Linked DNA regions of Homo sapiens: regions 1, 2, 3, 5, 6 and 7 are each linked to region 4. The links are contacts of gene promoters, found by promoter capture Hi-C in blood cells and fetal thymus (Javierre and others, 2016). All regions are on one chromosome and are shown on one strand. Each heading gives the region's core, a stretch centred on a gene start or on the middle of the fragment in contact. The rest is flanking DNA. Distances are from core to core; before and after follow the strand shown.

Region 1 (2,762 bases), core at 30-2,529, 6.4 Mb before region 4:
GTGTATCCTATATATCCTATTATAGTTCTTTTATCTACTGTAAGTTTTTGTGTGTCTTACACTCAGTACAACGTGAATATCTTGAAGTACTCACTTTACTTCTTGGGTGTCTAACATGACCCTGGTAGGCACTCAAAACAATTATGTTAAATGAGTAAATGAATAAATGAACAAATAGATGAAGATTTTGGCAGGGGGGCAGGCAGAAAAAGCAAATAAAAGGCCTTCAAGTAAATGGCATTTGTTGAATCTGAGCCAAGGCATCTTAGTGAGAATTAAATGCACTTTTCACTTTTCACATCCCACTGAAGTCGATTGGCAAACTGTATGTTGCATTCTGTGCTGAGGGTTATGATGGAGTGCTGCAGCAAGAATGCCAGGTGATCCCCATGCACAAACAACTGCTTCTTAGAAGGATGAAAGCATAAAACGTGTCAGGGTAAGCACATGAGGAGGCAGTGTTTATAATCCATTACACAGTGCTTTACAGATTGGTAAATTCTTTCACAAGCATCATCTCATTTGGTTCTCACTACAACACTGTGGGGGGTTAGGACAGGTATTCCTACCCATTTTCCAGTTGAAGAAACTTACATAAAAATAAATTAAATGACTTGTCCAAGGCTACACAGCTAATACAAGGCAGACAGAATCTGAAACCAGGTCCTTTATCTCCAAACCCAGAGCTCATCACTACATACAAAATATTTTAGTGAGACTAGCATATACGTGACAAAGAGGGAAAATAAAGAATAAATCAACCTCCCATCCTGCCATGCCTCTAAAAATGGTTTTTGGTGGAGTTATGGATATATTCAACTAAATTTCTTTGACCACCTATCCTGTTTAAGTCCTGGCCTAGGTGCAGGGTAGGACCCCTATGCTCAAGGTACCAACACTCTGAGTTACAAGATGCTTACGTAGAAAGATAAATAATAATAAAAATTGTTTACTAAGTGTAATAAGAGTAGAATAGGCAATAATTCTAGGGAAAGTGAACACCTAAAGATGAATCTATCAAGGCAGGTTCAAGGAAGAAGAGAAGGAGAGAGCTCAACAGGTCAGTTGATTAGCATGAGTGCAATTTAAAGGCCAGACCAGCAAAAGTGCAGGAATCTTACATTTAGATGTAAGTCTGGAGAAGAAGGCAGGAAGGAGGTGGTCCATAGAAGAGCTTTAAGCCTGGGAGAATAGGAAGGGCATTCTACAGAGGTCAGGTAATGGTGTGCACAAGGAATGAATCTAACATCCAAAGAAACACAAGCAGACAGAGGCATTCTGGGATAAGAAAGGCAAGTGTGGGAGAAGAAAGTAAAACTGCCAAAGATCTCAAATGCTGGACAAAAGATTATTTGTGAAACGTTGGCTCGATGTTTACCTTGCATGTTTTAAATGGGCACACCTATGAGCTGGGTGAGACATTTCAAGAGAAAATGTCACATTGTTGATGAGATGGGGTCCCTCCCACTAACAAGCATTTATAAAGGTAAAGCTAAACCATTATTTCTCCTTTTTCCTCCTTTTTGGTGTCAAAGCTATCAGGTCAAAGCAATGTCATCACAGGAGTGCTATCCAAAGTGCTATCATCAAGGAGTACTATCTTCAAAGGAACACAGAACTTAGAGTAAGAAGATCTGAGTTCAAGTCCCAGTTCTCCTACCTACTAGCATTGTCCATAACAATTTAACACTCAAAAGCCTCAAAGTCCTTATCTGAAAATAGGGATGATAATACCCACTTCTCAGGATTGTGGCCAAAAAAAAATGAGATGAGATTGTGAGAAACAGCTTTTAAATGTAAAAACATTATTTTCCATTGTGTTTCTATGTACTATGGCTTATTGGATTAGAGTACACACTGGGGTCTGAGGTAGTAAGGAAAAACCAGGAAGGTGTTCTGGGAGTGGATGGCAGAGAAAGACAAGGGTGAATGTGTGCCGAGGGCAACAGGAGCTTATGGGATGGGACAAACAAAGAGTCTACACAAAGGATATGGCTTCATGAGAACAGGACAAAAATAGGAAGTGCTAGAGATGGAACAGGAGTACTTGGAAAGAACCAAGGAAGATCAGACCATTATTTACATCTTATTCAACAGTATTTTGGGAACACCTACTTTGTGCCAAACACTGTGCTGGGATCATTTAATATTGACATGTGGATCAAAATGCCCACTCTGCTCAAGTCCCTTCTCACAGAATCTGCTCCTGCTCACAGTCATTATGACCTCACCACCATCACCATCCTACCACCCACGGTCCTGGCCAGACTTGACTGAATCAAAGGGGAACACTAGACCCAAGCTGGGCCAATCGTATTCCCTTCCCAGATAACTAAGATTCCACAAAACTGAGCAAGGTGGTAGCCATACAGAGGAGAAGCAGACTTTTATTACACTTGCCTGTATTTTATGGGAAATATGCTTCCTCCATAACTGTGTCATATACATGGTAGACCCTAGACTGAAGATCATGAACTTTTGCCACTGAAAGCCATGTATCTGTCTGGTTCCTGTACTTTGAAAAGCCAGACAGTTTAGCTTTTCCTTGCATTCTGTGATAACTAAACCTTAAAAACTTTTTGACTTGAGCTGGCTTGGGTCATTGTAGAGGTTGAATCATGTTCCCTAAAATTTCATGTCCACCTAGAACTTCAGAATGTGACTTTATTTGGAAATATGGTTTTTGCTGATACAATTGTTTAATATGAGCTCATTCGGGATTAAACTTAGGTAAAGCTAAACCATCATTTCTCCCTTTTCCT
Region 2 (2,725 bases), core at 52-2,551, 6.3 Mb before region 4:
AACTTTTAAAGGTTTTAAACCTGCCCAGAAATTACCTTGGTATCTGAAGTTTCCCTCTGTCTCCTCCTCTAATTAAGCTTGTTATTTGTCATGCACCAGCATTGGAGATAATAAAATTTCTTGTTCTGTGTATTTTGTTTGGCTAATAGTATTGCATACATACTTTCTCTGTATACTACTTTCTATTGTATGTGTTAACCAGTATTAAGGGAAAATGATCCAGCTTCAGCTATCTAATTCACAAATTAATTTCTGGAAATTAAACTTTGTAAATTAAGTTTTTGCCTATAAGAATTTGCTGGTCTGGGAAAACCTGCCCTATCAATGAGTATGTTGCCGTGGTTACCTTACTAAGATGCTGAAGTTCTAGGAGAGTAATGATTACATCAGAAGGCTAGGTTCAGCAAAATAAGTGTATCAGCAGGTTTTATCATGATCAGTAAAAATGTTCCAAATGCTTCTGCTCCATTATAGCAGTAAAGAACGAATATCCAATGCAACAGGACAATTCAGAGCCTTATTTATTTTATGGTCATCCTGTCTTTTGGGGAGAGAGATCTGTAAAAGATAGGACTGTGACAAGGCTGATCAGAATTGCTCAGACACTAGCTGGGTTAGGAGGGAGAGATGGTGGAAGTAAAATGTTGGTGCTTAGACTTAATCCTACTGCCTCTTCCACTGCTTTCTCAATTAGCGTGCAGCTACGGTCAGATGAGTGTGGATAGGTAATTAATTGCATGGATGATGTAAATTAGTGTGGGTGGGGGTATGCTAGTGCACAATAAACTGGCTGGTTGTATTTACCTCCAGATCTTTATCTTTACCAGGAAAGTTTATCTTTACTAGGAAAGATAAACTCTTGGAAAAAAAAATCTGAGGTCCACAAACTAGAAGGTTGTGATTCTGTTTTTCTCTGGGACTGAGTAGGGCAAAGAGGTGGGGGTGGGAAACACTATTCCATCTGAAGGCCCATCTTGGGGAGAAAAACCTGGGCTCTGCAATTGACTTGGTTGTTTTTCAGTCTTAAAAATAGGCAGTAAGCTGAGAGACAATGAAAATTGTAAATACTTACTTGTATTTATTGAGGATAGAAAACATTTTAACACCCCTTTTAGGGGTGTAAAATTATTTGTGTTTCTTTTACATGCAGTTGCCACAGACAAACCAGACTACTTGGTTAAAATTTGGGTTCTACTATTTATTAGCTCAGTAACTGGGAAATTAATCTCTCTGGCTCATGTCCTAAACTGAAAATAGGAACAATTGGATGTACCTTACAAATTGTGAGGACTAAATGATGATGTGTGTGAGAGTGTGTGTGTGTGTGTGTGTGTGTGTGTGTGTGTGTGTCTTCATTTAAGGAAGCTAGAGAAAGGAGTTCTGGGGAAATTCTGATTTTGCAAGGTAGGGGATTTAAAGAAGATTTTGAGTACACGGTGTGATTAGGGAGAGTTTTCCAAATTTATCCATACATATTATAAATGTTCGCTTAGATCAGATATCCCATGTTGACTGTCTTCAGGCCACAGATCTATTTTGTTTGGTTCATGCTTATAATTTTAAGAGACCAACATCTCAGTACAGAGACAGCAGCTAAAAATCTAGATTCTTACCTTTTTATTATTATTTTTTTAAAGTAAAAGATCTGGGAGCCTTTGACCTATAGACCTATGTAGCCAACAAACAAACAAAAAAACAAAGCAAAAAAAAAAAAAAACCATCTGATTCACCTTTAGATAAGGAAGATTCTGTTTGCCAAGTCCCTCAGTGTTGTCTCCCCAACACAGAGGCCAGGTAGCACTTGACATTTATCATTGGGCCTGCACCATTGTTTTTTCTTGTGCTTGCACAGCTTGCATTACCTACTTGGCCTCTAAATATCTCAAGTTGCCTCTCCTTGTAGAGACTAAAGGATGTCTCAATTTTTGCCTGTTTTACCTTAACTCTATTACCCTTCTGAATTCAGTACCTGTTAGAGTTGTAGAAATCAGTAAAGAATTAGTGGGAGTGTGAGCAACTGAGACTCTGACTTTGCTTGAGGCCCTAAAATACTATATTAAAGTATGTCAATAAAGTCTGTTGCTTGAATTTTAAAACAAGGAAATACCTATAACTTACCCTTGCAAAAATGTATTCCCATCCTGAAATATGGTAATATTTAAAAATTGCAAGCATCGCATGTTTAATATTTTCTGCCTCTGGAGGTTTGTAAAATATTTTCTGGGAATGAATTGTTATATTCTTGATGTTCTCAGTGGCCAAAGATAAATGTGAACTATCCGTTCCATAAATGCTATCATCTATGAATATATCCATAAATTTGAACCTTTGTTTTCAGTCCAAAGCATATCTTAGAAATTAAGTGGGGATGGGGAAGGCATTAGTATTTCTTTGTATTTATTTTAGAACTTCCAGTGGTAGCATTAAGGATTTAATTAATCCTTTTCTTGTGCTGTATCCACAAGGTCTCTCATCTTTGCTGCCTTCATTTCTTAAACATTTTAGTTGCCTTTCTCATGGGAAATAAAGCTTCTTGAGTTGAGGCCTCTACAGTGGCACATCTCTCCCCCATATCCCCCAGCCATTTCCCCTAGGCCTGCAGGAAAGCTCAAAATAGTTATTAAAAATCAGCCCTCAGGTCTGAGATAAATGAGATCTTAACTTTGGTCCCCACTCTAGCAGTGGGCTGAATACAACCCATTCCATGCCACCAGTGCAGAAAAGC
Region 3 (2,920 bases), core at 261-2,760, 6.9 Mb before region 4:
ATTGACATGGAAATAATGGATCAGCAATAAATTAGGGCTTAACTGTTTAAAGAGGGATTTCAGTGAAAGAAGGGGTAGTACTGCTTTACCAGAGTTAATTAAGGTCTCCAAAGTAAACTTCCGGTTCTGCTCATTGTAAAATCTCTTAAATTTCTACCCAGGAGAGGGCCACAGTAATATCAAGAGTAGCAGCATTTGCTATGTGGACTTTAGAGGAATTCTGTTCCTAAGCAAGGTCCATCTCCAGGGGCCGTTCACGGTGATCAGCTGTCTCCCTCAGCCAGGAAATTCATAGCCTAAGCTTGGTAAACTACCAAGCCCTGCCTGACAGATACAACACAGTTCTTTATCTCTTATTTTGTCCACCCGTTTTTCTCCTTTCCTTCTGCATATTTTCCCTAATCACACAGATCATTGTGAGAATAAAATGGGTTAATATATGTAAACCAATTAGAACTGTTCCTGGCACACAGTAAAGGCTTAATCAATGATAGCTAGTATTATTAGTAGTATTTGGCCTTTTTTCTTTGTTCTTTCTTCATTTTTTTCCTTTTCAAACTATGGTTGTAAAGCATCCACCTTTTGAAAGTTTGCCTTTCTGCCCTTTCACGCTGATAAGTACCTCAGTTTCCAATAAACTTTTGTTCAGGGGCAAACATTTACAATGTTGACATCTCTTCACACCACCAAAAATATTCATGGAGAATTATTTTATCTAAAGCTGTCTTTTTAATAATAAAATAGCCACCTCTACCTTCTTCATAAACTTTTAAGATGAATTGGTAATTCATCATAGCAAGGTTGATTTTAGAAACTAAAGTTGCATTAATTCATTAAATACACTGAAAGTAATTTTGTATGCTTGGTCACAAAGAAAATATAAAAACAATTTTATAAATAGATTTGCAGTTATTTTCTTTCAATATTTTCTTAGTGCCTATGATTACACAATACCACCTATGGAGAAAGCTGTTGTGAAAACGGACATTCAGATAGCGCTCCCTTCTGGGTGTTATGGAAGAGTGGGTAAGTCATTTAAGAAACAGGTAACTATTTGTCAAGTTCTCCTTTGTGATAGATTCTTCATGTTTCATTTGGGGTAATAAGCAGGCAATATTGCTTGGGCTGTGTCCTAAAAGAAGCACCATTTGTGATAGCAAATGCACTCTTTGAAAGGCTTTATTTACATCTCTGCTTTGCCTCTTTTTGACCCTTTTATTTTTCTCCTTCCTCACTGGAGCTTTTAGGCTCACACTGGCCTAGAAGGCTGTTCTCAGAACATGGCATTTTATATTATGAGAGTAAAACTTCTGACCTGTTGGTCCCAGAATGTGTAAGCCTACTTAACCTTTTCTTGTTTGGCCATGGGGTTAGGGTAAGGGATACTCTTCAGTGTTGTAGAGGCACTGGGAGGAGCTAGGACAAAATGGAGTACACGTCAACAGGTTTGATTTTTCTGGAGCGGATCAGTTGTTACCAGACAGTTCTTTGCAAGAGCGTAAGTTCTTTTTGACTAACTTCAGAGTAAACATAAAGGAGGCAATGGAGCTGTGACGCCCTCCTCCAGGGAAAGGAGCTAGACTGGCACTATATTATTAGCCATGAGTGAGGAAACTGCCAGTACTTCAGCCCTTAAAAGATAACAAGATGGGCTCTCATCTCATCTCTTGAGCATCATTGACTCCATTTTTTAGAATTTTTTCAGGGGAAGGGGCAGGAGATGGAGTGAAATAAAGGTTAGTACAGAAAGAGGCAGCATTATTGACAAAGTGCCTGATTTAAATTATTCTAAAATAAAATGCTGGAAGTTAGGATAATTAATTATAGGCCTGATGCTTGAGTCTGCAATAATAAGGTGTAACCTTAGCTTTTTATTTTTTTCATTTTTTAGGATTAAAAAGTATACTAGCATTGAATCATTGAGACTTAGTTTTTGGCATTTTTACTTAACTGATATTAGCCCATTTATCTTACTCTGGTTCATGTGTTTCCTACAGGCATGTCTTTTGGCATCTGAATCATGAATAGTGGGGTCCCAAGTTGTAGGCTATGGTCTGCTACTATTTGGTTAGGTTTGTTTCCCTCTCCCTTCCTCTTCCTTTCCCTTCCCATCTGCATTGTACATGTTGTGGTGTCCCATCTTAAAACCAAAGTCTTCTTCCTCAGTAGTGTGTTCCTGCTGGCCATACTTCTCTTTCTTCCCCTTTGAGGCTTAACTTCTTGAAAGAGCAGCCTACAGTTGTTCCCGCTTGCTCACCTTTCAGCTCATTCTAGCAGTCCTTCTCCCCTGTCTGCAGCACCACAAATTCTGACTGAAGTCACATGGGAGTGGTTTAAGTTAGTTTTGAATTAAAACCTTGTGGAATTTTTCTAAACTAGTCTTTCCAACTTTGGTAATGCAGTATGATGAATATATATTCTTTAATTCAAAACCATGTGCTAAAGTTAAGATGAAGATATAGATATTATAGGTGAAGAGAATGACATGCTTAAATTGCATCAGTTATCTCTGATATAGCCCTTCCCCCTTAAAATAACCAATGTCTCCTTTTTTGTTTTTTAGCTCCACGGTCAGGCTTGGCTGCAAAACACTTTATTGATGTAGGAGGTAATATATTTCCTTTTTTATTCTGTAAATGTTTGCAAGTATTTACTTTGTCTTTAAAAGGTAATATTCAAATGACAGATTTTATTTTTAAGAAAAGAAAATGATTAGAGGAAAGCTTGTTATAATAGGAGGAAAAGCTTTGTGGTTATTTTAAGTAATTATATTTTGTTTAACTACTAACTTAATTTTTAAAATAATGATTACCTAATTAATAATGACAGATTTAATGATATAATAATTAAGTAATTATTTAAGCAACAAAAGTTCTAGAAAACACAGGTCTATCTTGTAAGAATTTTCTTCATAAGAGAG
Region 4 (3,140 bases), core at 305-2,804:
CTTGTTCTTTGTTAGTGCTTCAGGCCCTCTATCTTTTATTTCCTCCAACAACTCTCTTCTGGATCCACTGGTGACTCCCAACCAACTCAACACTGTCCTTATTCTTCATCAACTTAACTTCCACTGTGTCTACCAAATCAATACCCAGGTCTTGACAGTTCTCACGATCTGTTGTTCTAATTCCAATATCCAGCCGACAAGCATCCTGGACGAAAATCACAAAATCGTAACGACATCATGTATAAAACCATACTGCCTACTCTGAATTAGACCCCAACCTGGCAATCTTTTGGTTCATTTTTATAAACTTCTTATCATGTTCCTGAGAGCAAGTATTCAAAATCTTCTAGGTTCTTTTACGTTATCAAACATGGCTTTGGTCCGTCACTTTCAGCTGAATCCCTTGGATCTAATTAATGAGGTCAATATCTTTGATCTGTTACAGAGATATAAGGTGAAGAAGTCAGACTTGTAATTATTTAGCACGTCAAATTCACCTTAATATACAGATTCTTAGACCCTCTTCCCCTCCCCCAAAGATTCCAACTCAATAGATCTGGTGAAAACCAGGAATCTGTAAACGCCCAGTAATTCAGAAGCAAACGTAAGAGATCAAATTCTGAGAAACAATGTGTTTCTCTGAGAAAGAGAGGAACGGGATTCATTCTGTAATGACAGGACAAATTCATGTACCATTCAAAACGTCTTTCACAACTAGGACTCATATTTATTATTTACGTTTACAGACTTATTATACTTGTAGCCCTACGCCCAAGGCTCTATCATCATTTACAATCCAGTCACTTCCTCAAACAAATGTATTTGCTCCGTTCTCTGCCTTTTCTCAAAATGTTCACTTTCCTTCCACTTAGAAGGCCCCCTCCGCTTTCTTCCGCAAAATTCAGGATCCAAGATAAATATCACCTCTATGCTGAGTCTTTCCGTACAGGACCCTCCCCAACTCACCTGCAGTAACTTAATACATAACTCTACCATTAAGCAATACGGAACACTTCCATCAACCTCTACACTTTAGTATGGACCTTAGTGTAATGCCTGACAGGGTATACACTCAACAAAGTTTACTGGATTCAAGAATTTGGCCCAAGTACATGAGTGGCCAAACAGCCCTCACAGACATCCAAGATTCCTGGTAGGCGCTAGCTGGGATCGCTCCTGAAGTTCCTCGCTGCCAACGCCACCCAAGGGTGGCGTGGTGGCCAGCGCCGCTCGGAAGACGGGCAAGGAGAAACCCCCGAAGCGGAACGTTGAGAACGGAGGCCCAGTTAAGCCACCCTCCCAGGGGAACAACGGGAGGAACCCGGGCCAAACACGGCAGACGCAGAAGCACCCAGCACCGAGCCGCCGCGCCCAGGAACCGCGGGAGCTAGGCTGAAGCAAGAACTGGTGTCGACCGCCTTACCTTGCAATCGTTGCGGACGAACATCATGCCGTGTCCAGGATAGATGGGCCCCGAACAGAAATAACACTTTTCGATACGCATGTTGAACCCGCGTGTAACCCCACCAAACAAACGCCAAGCTTGAGAGGAAGTGATGCAACCCCGTCACCGGAAGTTACCTTCTTCCCCCTTCCCCGACCGGAAAAAGGCAAGCGTCCTTCGTTCTCGCGGGTCTGTTAGACCAGATGCGAACACGACTGTGCCTCCGGCGGCCGTGTGGTCAAATGCGCTGCCGTTTGACGCAGGCGCAGAGCTGCAGACTAGACCTGTTCGCTGTTACTTTGGGGAAATGTGGTTCTGCGCCACCTTGTGAACTTGCTCTCACAGCGCCTAGTTTTTTCTCTCTGTGTGTCGGCATTTATGCAAGTATTATGTATCTTTGGTTTGTGCTTTGCCTCGGAGTGCTCTCGAGAGCACTCTCTTAACTCATTTGTCTACTGCCTGCCCTAGACCAGCCCTCGATTCTCGTCCCACAGTGATTTGCAGGGTGTAAGCGGCGAAGACCCTGCAATCCAGCGTTGCTTCGAACATTGCAATGAAAACGGTTGAGTTGCTGATGCTCCAAGGACTTTACCAGCAATTTTTTTAAATATAAAATCGTGTTATCCGCCTCCCCCCCATTTTAATTAATATGCATATGTAGTAAACAAATATTTTCGCCGGAAACTACGACTCCCTCCCTAGACCTGCGGTCTTCCTCCCCAGGGGCAAAACAGTTCCATTTATTACCTGCCAGAGCTTTTCTGTGCATAGGCAAACATGTATATTTGTGTGTTTGCCTGTCTCTACGTCCTCTTCTTTATAATACTAGTTAATATGCTATTTACTCTTTTCTGCATCTTGCTGTTACCTTGTATCCCTTCATTGGAATGTGAGCTCCATGAGGGGCAGGGATTTCAGTTCGTTTGGTTTACAACTACATCCCAGTATCTAGAACAGTCCCTGGCACATAATAGGCATTTGATACATATTTTACTGTAAAAGGGTATTTAACATTCTTTTTCATATATATATGCCATTGTATGAAAGTATTTTAATTGGTCACTAATCGATGGGCATTCTTATCTTTTGATATAATAAGTATCTGTTGGTACGCTTTTTCAGGAGAGGGTTTATGTAGAACTGCTGGATCAGAGGAGCTGGATATAGATAAATAGTTTTAAAATTTGGCAGATAATACTAAATTGCCTTCCAAAAGTTTTTACCAATTAACACTCAGCATCAACAAATAAGATGTCTGTTTCACTACCCCGCTGTGAAAAGTGATCTTTGCCAACCTGAGATGAAAATTTATCTTATTATTATTTCAACTTGAATTTAATTACAAATGATGTTAAGAATCTTTCACAATGTTTTTCAGCTTTTTTCTGTGAATTGCCTGTTCAGGTCCTACGCAGTTTTCTATTCTTTCGTTGATTTTCAACAGCACTTTACACGTTAAGGTTAGTCCTTTGCTGACATGCATTTAGAAATTATTTCCCTATCAATGTTTTAAGCTTTGCTCATGGTATTTTTCCATGCAGAAATATGTTGTTTATATATTCAGATTTATCCAATTTTTTTATGATTTTGGATTTGGTACTTTCCTTTAAACTGCACTTCTCACTCCAAAATTGTTTTTCAAAATGTTTTCTCTTATGTTTTGTAGTTTCATTTTTTTGCATTTGAATTTTCAACT
Region 5 (2,986 bases), core at 364-2,863, 5.6 Mb before region 4:
AGAATCGCTTGAACCCCAGAGGCGGAGGTTGCGGTGAGCCAAGATTGTGCCACTACACTCCAGCCTGGGTGACAGAGCGAGACTCTCTCTAAAAAACAAACGGACAAATAAAAACAGCTAGAGAGAATGAATAAGATCTAATATTCGATAGCACAACTGGCTAACTATAGTCAACAATAATTTACTGCACATTTTAAAATAAATAAAAGAGTATAATTGGAATGTCTACAACATAAATAAGTGATAAATGCTTGAAATGATGGATACCCCACTTACTCTGATATAATTATTATATATTGTATGTATCAAAAATTATCTCATGTATGCCATAAATATATATATACTTATGATGTACCCTTAAAAATTAAAAATAAAAATTTGAAAAAGGAAAGCAAATGTTTAGACAGAAGCAAAGATGCATAGAGATGTGAAGAACATGTTATGGGAAACAGGGAACTCTAGAGCTAGTCAAATTGAAAAGAATGAGAGATATGAGAGATGGTGCATGCAAAAGGCTTACAGACAGAAAAATACTCACGATATAATATCTCTAGCTTCATGGGTATAGCAATTTGGCTAGAAGGAACTCACAATACATTTACAAATATACAGAATCAAACTTAATGAAAACAATTTAAGCATTGACTTTTTTTTCTTGTAATGGCTGTCAAACCACTCCAAGTACAAAGCACCAAAAATAATATGCACATTTAAATTAAAGGGAATTAGAAAAGTGAAGAAAGTGAAACTTGCATAGTGAAGTTCTAACTAATTTCAAAAATTCCATGTTTCTTTTGGGGTAAAATTAAAATAAGGTAAGGTATAAATTAAACAGATTTCTACTTTTGGTAGGATGTAGAAGGATATAAAACACCTACACTTCCATGATAATAATAAGACAAACTTGGACAAAAAAAAAATCATATTTTTCTATGGGGTTAGTGAAAAGTGGTGAATGCCAGGAGGCAGGACCAGTTAAATAACTTGTAAACATTCAGAGTTCCTTGTTCAAAATTATTGAGTTTGAAGATAATAACATCAGAGCATTAAACCAAATGCATGTACTTCTCAGCATAAGGCCCTGTGCAACTGCAGAAGTTGTAAACCCATGAAGCTAAAAACAAGCCTAACTGTCCCATAGAACTAATGTTTATGGTTTCTTTAAATAAATATAGAAATTAATCCTTCTAGTCTTAAAACTTGAGAAAGTTACATTGGTCTTATCTGAGTTCCTTTCCCAGAAAACTAACCATCAGGCCTCCCAGATAGTGTCAAGGAACTAAAACATACCAAATCACTATATCTTGACAATTAGCCTCTAGACTCCTCACCATCACCCATCATGATTGCCTAACTGACTACCTGTTTCCTGTTAACCAACTCCTCCTTCTTACCACCACTCCCTAATTTCTGTTTTCCCACACATGGTTACATTTCTTCCTTGCTATATAAAACCCTAATTTTAGTCAGTCAGGGAGATGGATTTGAGACTGATCTCCCATCTCCTCGGCTGCAGCACCCTATTAAAGCTTTCTTCCTTGGCAATACTCATCTCAGTGATTGGCCATCTGTGCAGCGAGCATTAAGACCTAGACCAAACCCTTGGTGTTTCAGTGACAAAGCCAGCTCTACCTGGGAGCCCTGATTACCTGAAATTCCAAGAGAAATATAACCTTTGTAAGTGAACATAAAGCTGTGGAAGCTTCCTTACCCCGGGGCCAGCTCTGCTGCTCCTCCTTTGACATGTTCGTTGGCCTGCCATGGTACAGTAACTTTGCAGAAATGAAGAGAAATCAGCTGGGTCTTAGGCTTCAATGTGAGTTGGGCGACCAAACTGGGGTATGAAAGACACCCAAATGCAAAAATAAATGACTCAGCCAAACAATCCCTTTCCCCTCACCCACAAACCTCACTTCTGACTTTTACCAAGTCAGATAGTTTGGCTCTGTATCTCCACTCAAATCTCATGTTGAACTGTTGGAATCCCCAGTGTTGGAGGTGGGGCCTGGTGGGAGGTGATTGGATCATGGGGGTGGTTTCTAATGATTTTGCAACATCCCCCTAGTGCTGTTTTGTGATAGACTTCTCATGAGATCTGGTTGTTTAAAAGTGTGTAGCACCTCCCCCTTCACCCTTTTCCTCCTGCTCCAGCCATGTAGGACGCATCTGCTTCCCCTTCACCTTCTGCCATGATTGTAAGTTTCCTGAGGCCTCCCCAGCCATGCTTCCTGTACAGCCTGTGGAACTGTGAGTCAATTAAACTTCTTTTCTTTAAAATTACCCAGTCTCTGGTAGTTCTTTATAGCAATGTGAGAACGGACTAACGCAGCAGGGGAGGAAGGGCTGGAAAATATATTCTGCTCATGAAGCTGGAGGTTCTACTACGTCACATGACAAACGACATGCATATAACAAGAAATGGACAAGGGAAGGCTAATAATATAAGCTATTATAATGTTTATAAGAAAGATTGGCCTGAATTTTTCTATCTTATAATGTGAAGATTTGGAATTAAGGCTATTATGGTCTCAAAAAAAATGAGTTGGGAAATGCCTCTATTTTTTTCTATTATCTGAAAGAATTTAAAATCTGAAAGATCAGTACTATTTCTTCCTTTCTTCCTTAAATGTTTGGTGGACACTGCTAGTTATGTTCCCTGAACCTGAACCTGAAATTATGGGGGAGTTTTAAATTAAGGATACTGTTATGGACCTAATCATGCCCCCACCCCAAATTCATATGTTCAAGCCCTAACACTTATAACAAGATGTGACTTTATTTGCAGATGGAGCCTTTGAGGAGACAATTAAGGTTAAAAGAGACTAAAAGAGTGGGGCTCTAATATGATTGGTGTCATTATGAGAACAGACACCAGAGAGCTTGCTTGCTTATACTCTCTCTCCATATACACACAGATATTTTATCTGTGAAAATATCTAGAACTATGAAATAATAAACTTTGTGTTGTTTTAAGCCACTTTGCTTG
Region 6 (2,913 bases), core at 11-2,510, 6.0 Mb before region 4:
ATTGGGATAATATGGATTATACCGTCTTTGATATTTTTTGAACTTAACATTTATATTGAATACATGTTCGCTATGTACATAGCACTGGCAATCGACCATCATCTTTCTACTGATCTTTTTATTAAAAGGATGACAAATACGAGAGTCTGTAAGAGATCCTGTAGCTAAGACTCATTTACCTCCCCACTGCACACAAAAAAATAGACAAATAAGTAAAAATGTAGAGCATTAAAACTGCTATACCATAAAAAATAATGGCAACATGGGTGGAGCTGGAGGCCATTTTTCCTACCCAACTAATGCAGGAACAGAAAACCAAATACTGCATGTTCTCTGTTATAAGTGGGAACTAAATGATGAGAACTCATTAACACAAAGAAGGGAACAGACACTAGGGCCTGCTTGAGAGAGAAGGGTGGGAGGAGGGAGAGCAGCAGAAAAAATAACTATTGGATACTTGGCTTAGTACCTGGGTGATGAAATAATCTGTATAATAAACCCTTGTAATACGAACTTATCTATATAACTAACCTGCACATGTACCCTTGAACCTAAAAGTTAAAAAAAATAAATAAAACTGCTATATATTAAGACAAGAAGAACAATACTAGTAAACATTTATCCCCTAATCCCAACTATGAGCTTGACTAGGGGAATATAATGAGGCTCACAGCTGGTCATATGGTCATATATTTAACCAAGTGGAATTATTCTAACTTTTAGACAATGTTTTCCTTGTAATACATTTAAATAATTATATCCAAATATAGGCCAGGCGTGGTGGCTCACGTCTGTAATCTCAGCACTTTGGGAGGGCGAGGAAGGCCAATCACCAAAGGTCAGGAGTTTGAGACCAGCCTGGCCAACATGGTGAAACCCTGTCTCTACTAAAATATAAAAATTAGCCGGGCATGGTGGTGGGTGCCTGTGGTCCCAGCTATTCAGGAGGTTGAGGCAGGAGAATTGCTTGAACCCAGAAGGTGGAGGTTGCAGTGAGCCGAGATCATGCCACTGCACTCCAGCCTAGGCGAAAGAGCACAACTCTGTCTCAAAAAAAAAAAAAAAAATTATATTCAAATATATAATATCCTACATATAACAGGACTTACTAAAGACTAATTTTTGGAATAAAGTCAATTGGTCTTAAATTCTTTCTAAAAAGATTATTAGAAGTTTCACGGTAGAACGATTGGACTGCGGAATTAAAACAGTTAGCTTATCAATGGCCTTACCAACTTAATGAATGGCACTATGATTATTATTTAGTGTTACTGGATCAGCAAATAATCTATAAACCTGTAAAATTAGCATTGCATTAAATGTCATTTACTAGCACCATCACCTACCACAGATTACTATGTTTAGAAATGCCTGCTTCTGCCTCTAATGAAAATCAAACAGATCTTAGAACATACATGATCATGCATGTATGTTGAATTTCTTTTATATTCGTTTCTTTTTTTTTTTTTTTAAATAACAAGTTTGTTTTATTTTAGATTCTTCTTGGGCAGAAATCATTATTTACTTTCTTGGGTAAAAACAGTACAGTTTTAGAAACAGACTTAATTTTTCAGGTGGTATCCTAACTACCTATTTCTACCAGATTGGGGAAGAACAAAGTGATTTAGGGTGTTAAAATATATCATTGGACGACCAATAAAGATATGCTGAGTATCACTGTGGTCAGCAATACTCACTGCTCTTAGTTAACACTTTAACTAAAACGAGGTGATGATCAATTTTCCAAAAAACAATACATTTTTTATAAAAATAAATCTTGAGAAAACAAGTCAATTACGCACATTTTTTAAATACTAAGAAACATAAAAAAAAAAAAAGAAAATCCCAGACAAAATAACTATTTTAAAAAAAGAAAAACTCTTTTGGCAAAAGGTAAGCATGAAATGGTAACCTGCTTCATTAATCTTTTTTTTTTAAATATATGATTTAAGGAAATGAAAAACAAATTACTAAATAAGTTTTATGCCACCAAAAGTTTTAACTGTTAGTAAATTGATCATAAATAATTTTACAATTAGACACCTGATGAGAGACAGATGAGGGGAGGAAGAGCTATTTAATAGAACGCTAGGGAAAGAAAAACAAAAAACCCAACAGAAAACTCCAACATTTCATTTCATTATGTGGTAGTGCAAAATCTTACTTTAAGAAATAAAAAAGTTAAAACAAGGCTGGTTGTGGTGACTAACACCGGTAATCCCAGCACTTTGGAAGGCTGAGGAGGGCAGATCACTTGAGGTCAGGAGTTCAAGACCAGTCTGACCAACATGGTGAAACCCCGCCTCTAATAAAAACACAAAAAATTAGTCAGGTGTGGTGGCAGGCGCCTGTAATCTCAGCTACTAAGGAGGCTGAGGCAGGAGAATCGCTCGAACCTGGGAGGCGGAGGTTGCAGTGAGCTGAGATTGTGCCACTGCACTCCAGCCTGGGCAACAGAGTGAGACTCTGTTTCAAAAAAAAAAGTTAAAGCAATTATATATTCAACTTCATTTTACTGCTCATGTAGCGTAGGCCCTAAAAGGCTGGGAAAATATGACCAAGTTAAAACACTGTATGTTTAATAAAAAATCTTGCAAAAGTTAATCAAGTACTTCATGGGACAAAAAGATTCTCACTGCTATTGCTACATTACATTCTCAAAGATGATCATCAGCTTGATCACAGTGCTAATAAGTTATGTATCCAACAGACTATTGCTTAGGAAAGAGGTAAGCAGAAACACTTACAAACACAAACTAATAATACAAATGCAATTTCTCAAGAGATGACATACAGCTGGGCATGGTGGCACGTGCCAGTAGTCTCAGCTACTTAAGAGGCTGAGGCGGGATGATTGGTTGGGCCCAGGAGTTTGGGCCCAGCCTGAGTAACACAGCAAAATCCCATCTCTAA
Region 7 (2,914 bases), core at 92-2,591, 6.2 Mb before region 4:
CATAGTGAACAACAAAATGTATGAAAAAACTAGACTAGATACATTATAGAACGTTATTCCTCAGTTTGAATTTCTGTGTTTAGTCTCTCTACTTTTGCCAAGATCTATTTTTTAGGAATAAGAACTTTCATAGCAGAGAGTTGTCTTCATAAAGGAAATAAATATGGAATAAATGTAAACTACACTTAACAAAGTCTAATCATTCTTGTATTATTTGCTTCACAAAAAAGCACAACCATCTACATAGCAAAACTATCTTCATCTTTCAGAAATTATTTCAGAATTTTCCAAATTAATGAAAAAAATCATAGTCCCAGAATCATCTTTGTAAAAATATTTAAGCAGTTTCATGTTCACTTTTTATTTTGTGTACATTAAGGCAAATGTCTATAAACAAAATGCCTTTGATGTAAATAATCTAGAAAGCTCAAGACTCTGTCAGAGTATGAAACAAAAATGTTATTTAAAAGAGTTTATTAGACAAATGTATTCAGATCATTGAGAGCCTATATAATTCAACAAACGTGCATTTAGCATACATTCCGGAAAGAGCACTGTGCTGGACTGGGTTAGGGAAAATGGGCAAACATTACCACAAAGCACACGTCGGCAGAGAATGTACACTAAATTCCTCAGACATGGAACCTCCAGATGAATGCAAATAATTTTCCCAGATTAAGCAATAAAAAACTGACACCCACTTAAAATCAAAACTGAAGTTGGAACATAACGAGACACTCTCCCACAGTGAAACTCCAGAGTATGTACCACACACCCACAGAAAAAATATGACCATGGAAACCCTCCATATTCTTTCTATGTTAAGGTAAAAATAGAATATCTCAAACTTTAAGATATTTTACATCTCATGGCAAAAGATAAAATAAATGTCCTCTGAAGGGAAAAATGATTAATGCTTAAGAGATAACTACTAGCTGTGCTGTTTTTTTGATTAAAATGCCGAAACAAAACACAGTACTTACACGTGTAAGTTTCACAGACTCCAGACAATAATGAGGAAGACAAATCAAAGTATTTAACTTAGATTCTGCCCATACTGGGCAGAATGCTTTGCTACCCATACTTTTCCTTTTTAAAAAACAGACCAAATCTAATGTTTTTTAAATCTGATGGTTACTTTTTTAAAAAACCAGCTTTCTAGATTTAATATTAGTTTCTGAATTATCCACTACTTTGTTTTTAACTTATTATTTTCTCTTTTGATTTGATGGAGTTTCCCCTCTAACTTCTTGCCTTGGATGCTTAATTTTCATTCTCCTTGTAAACTGTTTAACAATGAAGGCATTTATGACTATGCATTTGCCTCAGAGTATAGCTTCAGCCACATTCCATAGGTTTTTTGTTTGTTTGTTTGTTTGTTTTAGAGATGGGGTCCCACTATGTTGTCCAGGCTGGAGTACAGTGGCTATTCACAGGTGTGATCTCACTACTGATCAGCACCAGAGTTTCTACATGCTTCATTTCTGACCTGGGCCAGTTCACCCTTCCTTAGGCAACCTGGAGTTTCCCCACTCCAGGGAGGTTATCATATTGATGCTGAACTTAGTGCAGATACCTGATCCACATAGCACACTACAGTCCAGAACACCGAGGTAGGGTCAAGCGATGCCCCTGCCTTAGCCTCCTTAGCAGCTGGGACTACAGGTGTACACCACCATGCTGGGCCCCATAGGTTTTTCATATGTGGTATTTTATTATTAACACATTTTTAATAACCTATCATACTACTTTTTATTCTTTTTTGACCTAAGAGCTTGAAAATGTCTTTTTGGCCAGGTGCAGTGGCTCAGCCTGTAATCCCAGCACTTTGGGAGGCCGACGTGGGTGGATCACCTGAGGTCAGAAGTTCGAGACCAGCCTGGACAACATGGTGAAACCCCATCTCTACTAAAAATACAAAAATTAGCTGGGTGTGGTGGTGCACACCTGTAATCCCAGCTTCAGGAGGCTGAGGCAGGAGAACTGCTTGAACTGGGAAGGCGAGGTTGTAGTGAGCTGAGACAGTACCATTGCACTCCAGCCTGGGTGACAGAGTGAGACTCCGTCTCAAAAAGAAAAAACAGAAAATGTCTTTTTAAATTTCCAAATGCTATTTTCCCTAAATGTATATATTAATACTTTTTTATTATGAACATATTATTTTTTAAATCTGATAAGACAGCTCATTTACTTATATCCTTACGTAAGGGCCAACTATACGTATTACTGAATAATAAACATTTAAAATAACTTATTTAGAATACATTTCATTTGGAGTACTGACATTACTTAAAGTTTATAAATTATTTAAAGGAAACAATGAAAAGCTAGACAATTTTCTATCCTGATTGGTAAAACGCATGTTGCATGAAATCATACGTATTCATTAGTTTTTCCAAAAATTAAAGACATTAATAACTAGTAATCTTATAAATTCTTTTAAAAGAACTAATGTTAATGTACTAAAAATTAAGCCAACATTTAAATTATTTGTGATAACAGAAAAGAGACTGTTAACCTCAAGTGTTCTGTCACTTCTAAGCCCATTGTTTACTTTAAAAAATCTCAATAAATTTCCTAAAAATAGAACCAGTAAGCCTTTATAAACAAAATGAACTCCATGATTTATCCTTCACATCTCAAAATGCAAGTTTTTTTTTTTTTTTCAGGGGAAAAAATGCATTATATACCAAGCAACACATATTCTTAGAATATTTAACTCTGGCAGTTAAAATTAAGCTAGCTATTTTGATTAAATACAGAGAATACTCTATAAAAAGTGCTGAAAGAGGATACTCCTAAGATTTTCTTCTAGTTATAACATTCTTTCAAATAATCATTATTGCAATTAAGATTATCCATCTAGCACTGTATTCCCAGTAAGTTACTTTTTACAATCTTGATCAGCACACAT

What was found. Contacts are between HindIII fragments. The CHiCAGO score rates a contact against its expected background, and 5 or more counts as called.
Region 1: a fragment that was not itself captured here is called in contact with the fragment with the promoter of RSL24D1 in region 4 in 9 of 17 cell types (naive CD4 T cells, non-activated CD4 T cells, naive B cells and 6 more); the score reaches 18.3 in naive CD4 T cells.
Region 2: a fragment that was not itself captured here is called in contact with the fragment with the promoter of RSL24D1 in region 4 in 1 of 17 cell types (activated CD4 T cells); the score reaches 5.5 in activated CD4 T cells.
Region 3: a contact is called between a fragment that was not itself captured here and the fragment with the promoter of RSL24D1 in region 4, in 4 of 17 cell types (non-activated CD4 T cells, naive CD4 T cells, total CD4 T cells and 1 more). The highest score is 11.3, in non-activated CD4 T cells.
Region 5: a fragment that was not itself captured here is called in contact with the fragment with the promoter of RSL24D1 in region 4 in 1 of 17 cell types (non-activated CD4 T cells); the score reaches 6.2 in non-activated CD4 T cells.
Region 6: a contact is called between a fragment that was not itself captured here and the fragment with the promoter of RSL24D1 in region 4, in 5 of 17 cell types (naive CD4 T cells, non-activated CD4 T cells, activated CD4 T cells and 2 more). The highest score is 10.4, in naive CD4 T cells.
Region 7: a fragment that was not itself captured here is called in contact with the fragment with the promoter of RSL24D1 in region 4 in 1 of 17 cell types (non-activated CD4 T cells); the score reaches 5.1 in non-activated CD4 T cells.

The regions. Positions count from the first base shown.
Region 1 is chr15:48,812,240-48,815,001 of GRCh38, forward strand. No RefSeq gene overlaps it. Among named protein-coding and RNA genes, the nearest start is that of CEP152, 2.6 kb to the left of the region's middle. The HindIII fragment of the contact is 4,636 bases long and covers 1-2,762 here.
Region 2 is chr15:48,879,674-48,882,398 of GRCh38, forward strand. The region is part of intron 4 of SHC4 (SHC adaptor protein 4); the gene reads right to left. It overlaps EID1 (EP300 interacting inhibitor of differentiation 1), which reads left to right. Exons shown (of 1, transcript NM_014335.3): 1 at 1-500. Among named protein-coding and RNA genes, the nearest start is that of EID1, 2.9 kb to the left of the region's middle. The HindIII fragment of the contact is 2,452 bases long and covers 76-2,527 here.
Region 3 is chr15:48,333,483-48,336,402 of GRCh38, forward strand. It overlaps DUT (deoxyuridine triphosphatase), which reads left to right. Exons shown (of 7, transcript NM_001025248.2): 3 at 935-1,026; 4 at 2,564-2,608. Among named protein-coding and RNA genes, the nearest start is that of DUT-AS1, 3.1 kb to the left of the region's middle. The HindIII fragment of the contact is 2,422 bases long and covers 300-2,721 here.
Region 4 is chr15:55,195,387-55,198,526 of GRCh38, forward strand. RSL24D1 (ribosomal L24 domain containing 1) reads right to left here and starts at 1,555. Exons shown (of 6, transcript NM_016304.3): 1 at 1,424-1,555. The coding sequence starts at 1,504. RefSeq lists enhancers at 675-1,566, 1,360-1,519. The HindIII fragment of the contact is 1,416 bases long and covers 1,541-2,956 here.
Region 5 is chr15:49,613,410-49,616,395 of GRCh38, forward strand. It overlaps FAM227B (family with sequence similarity 227 member B), which reads right to left. Exons shown (of 16, transcript NM_152647.3): 2 at 1,712-1,834. The coding sequence starts at 1,762. Among named protein-coding and RNA genes, the nearest start is that of FAM227B, 5.9 kb to the right of the region's middle. The HindIII fragment of the contact is 173 bases long and covers 1,528-1,700 here.
Region 6 is chr15:49,150,350-49,153,262 of GRCh38, forward strand. The region is part of intron 1 of COPS2 (COP9 signalosome subunit 2); the gene reads right to left. Among named protein-coding and RNA genes, the nearest start is that of COPS2, 3.8 kb to the right of the region's middle. The HindIII fragment of the contact is 6,239 bases long and covers 1-2,913 here.
Region 7 is chr15:49,040,958-49,043,871 of GRCh38, forward strand. The region is part of intron 1 of SECISBP2L (SECIS binding protein 2 like); the gene reads right to left. It also overlaps the pseudogene RN7SL577P. Among named protein-coding and RNA genes, the nearest start is that of SECISBP2L, 4.0 kb to the right of the region's middle. The HindIII fragment of the contact is 5,750 bases long and covers 1-2,914 here.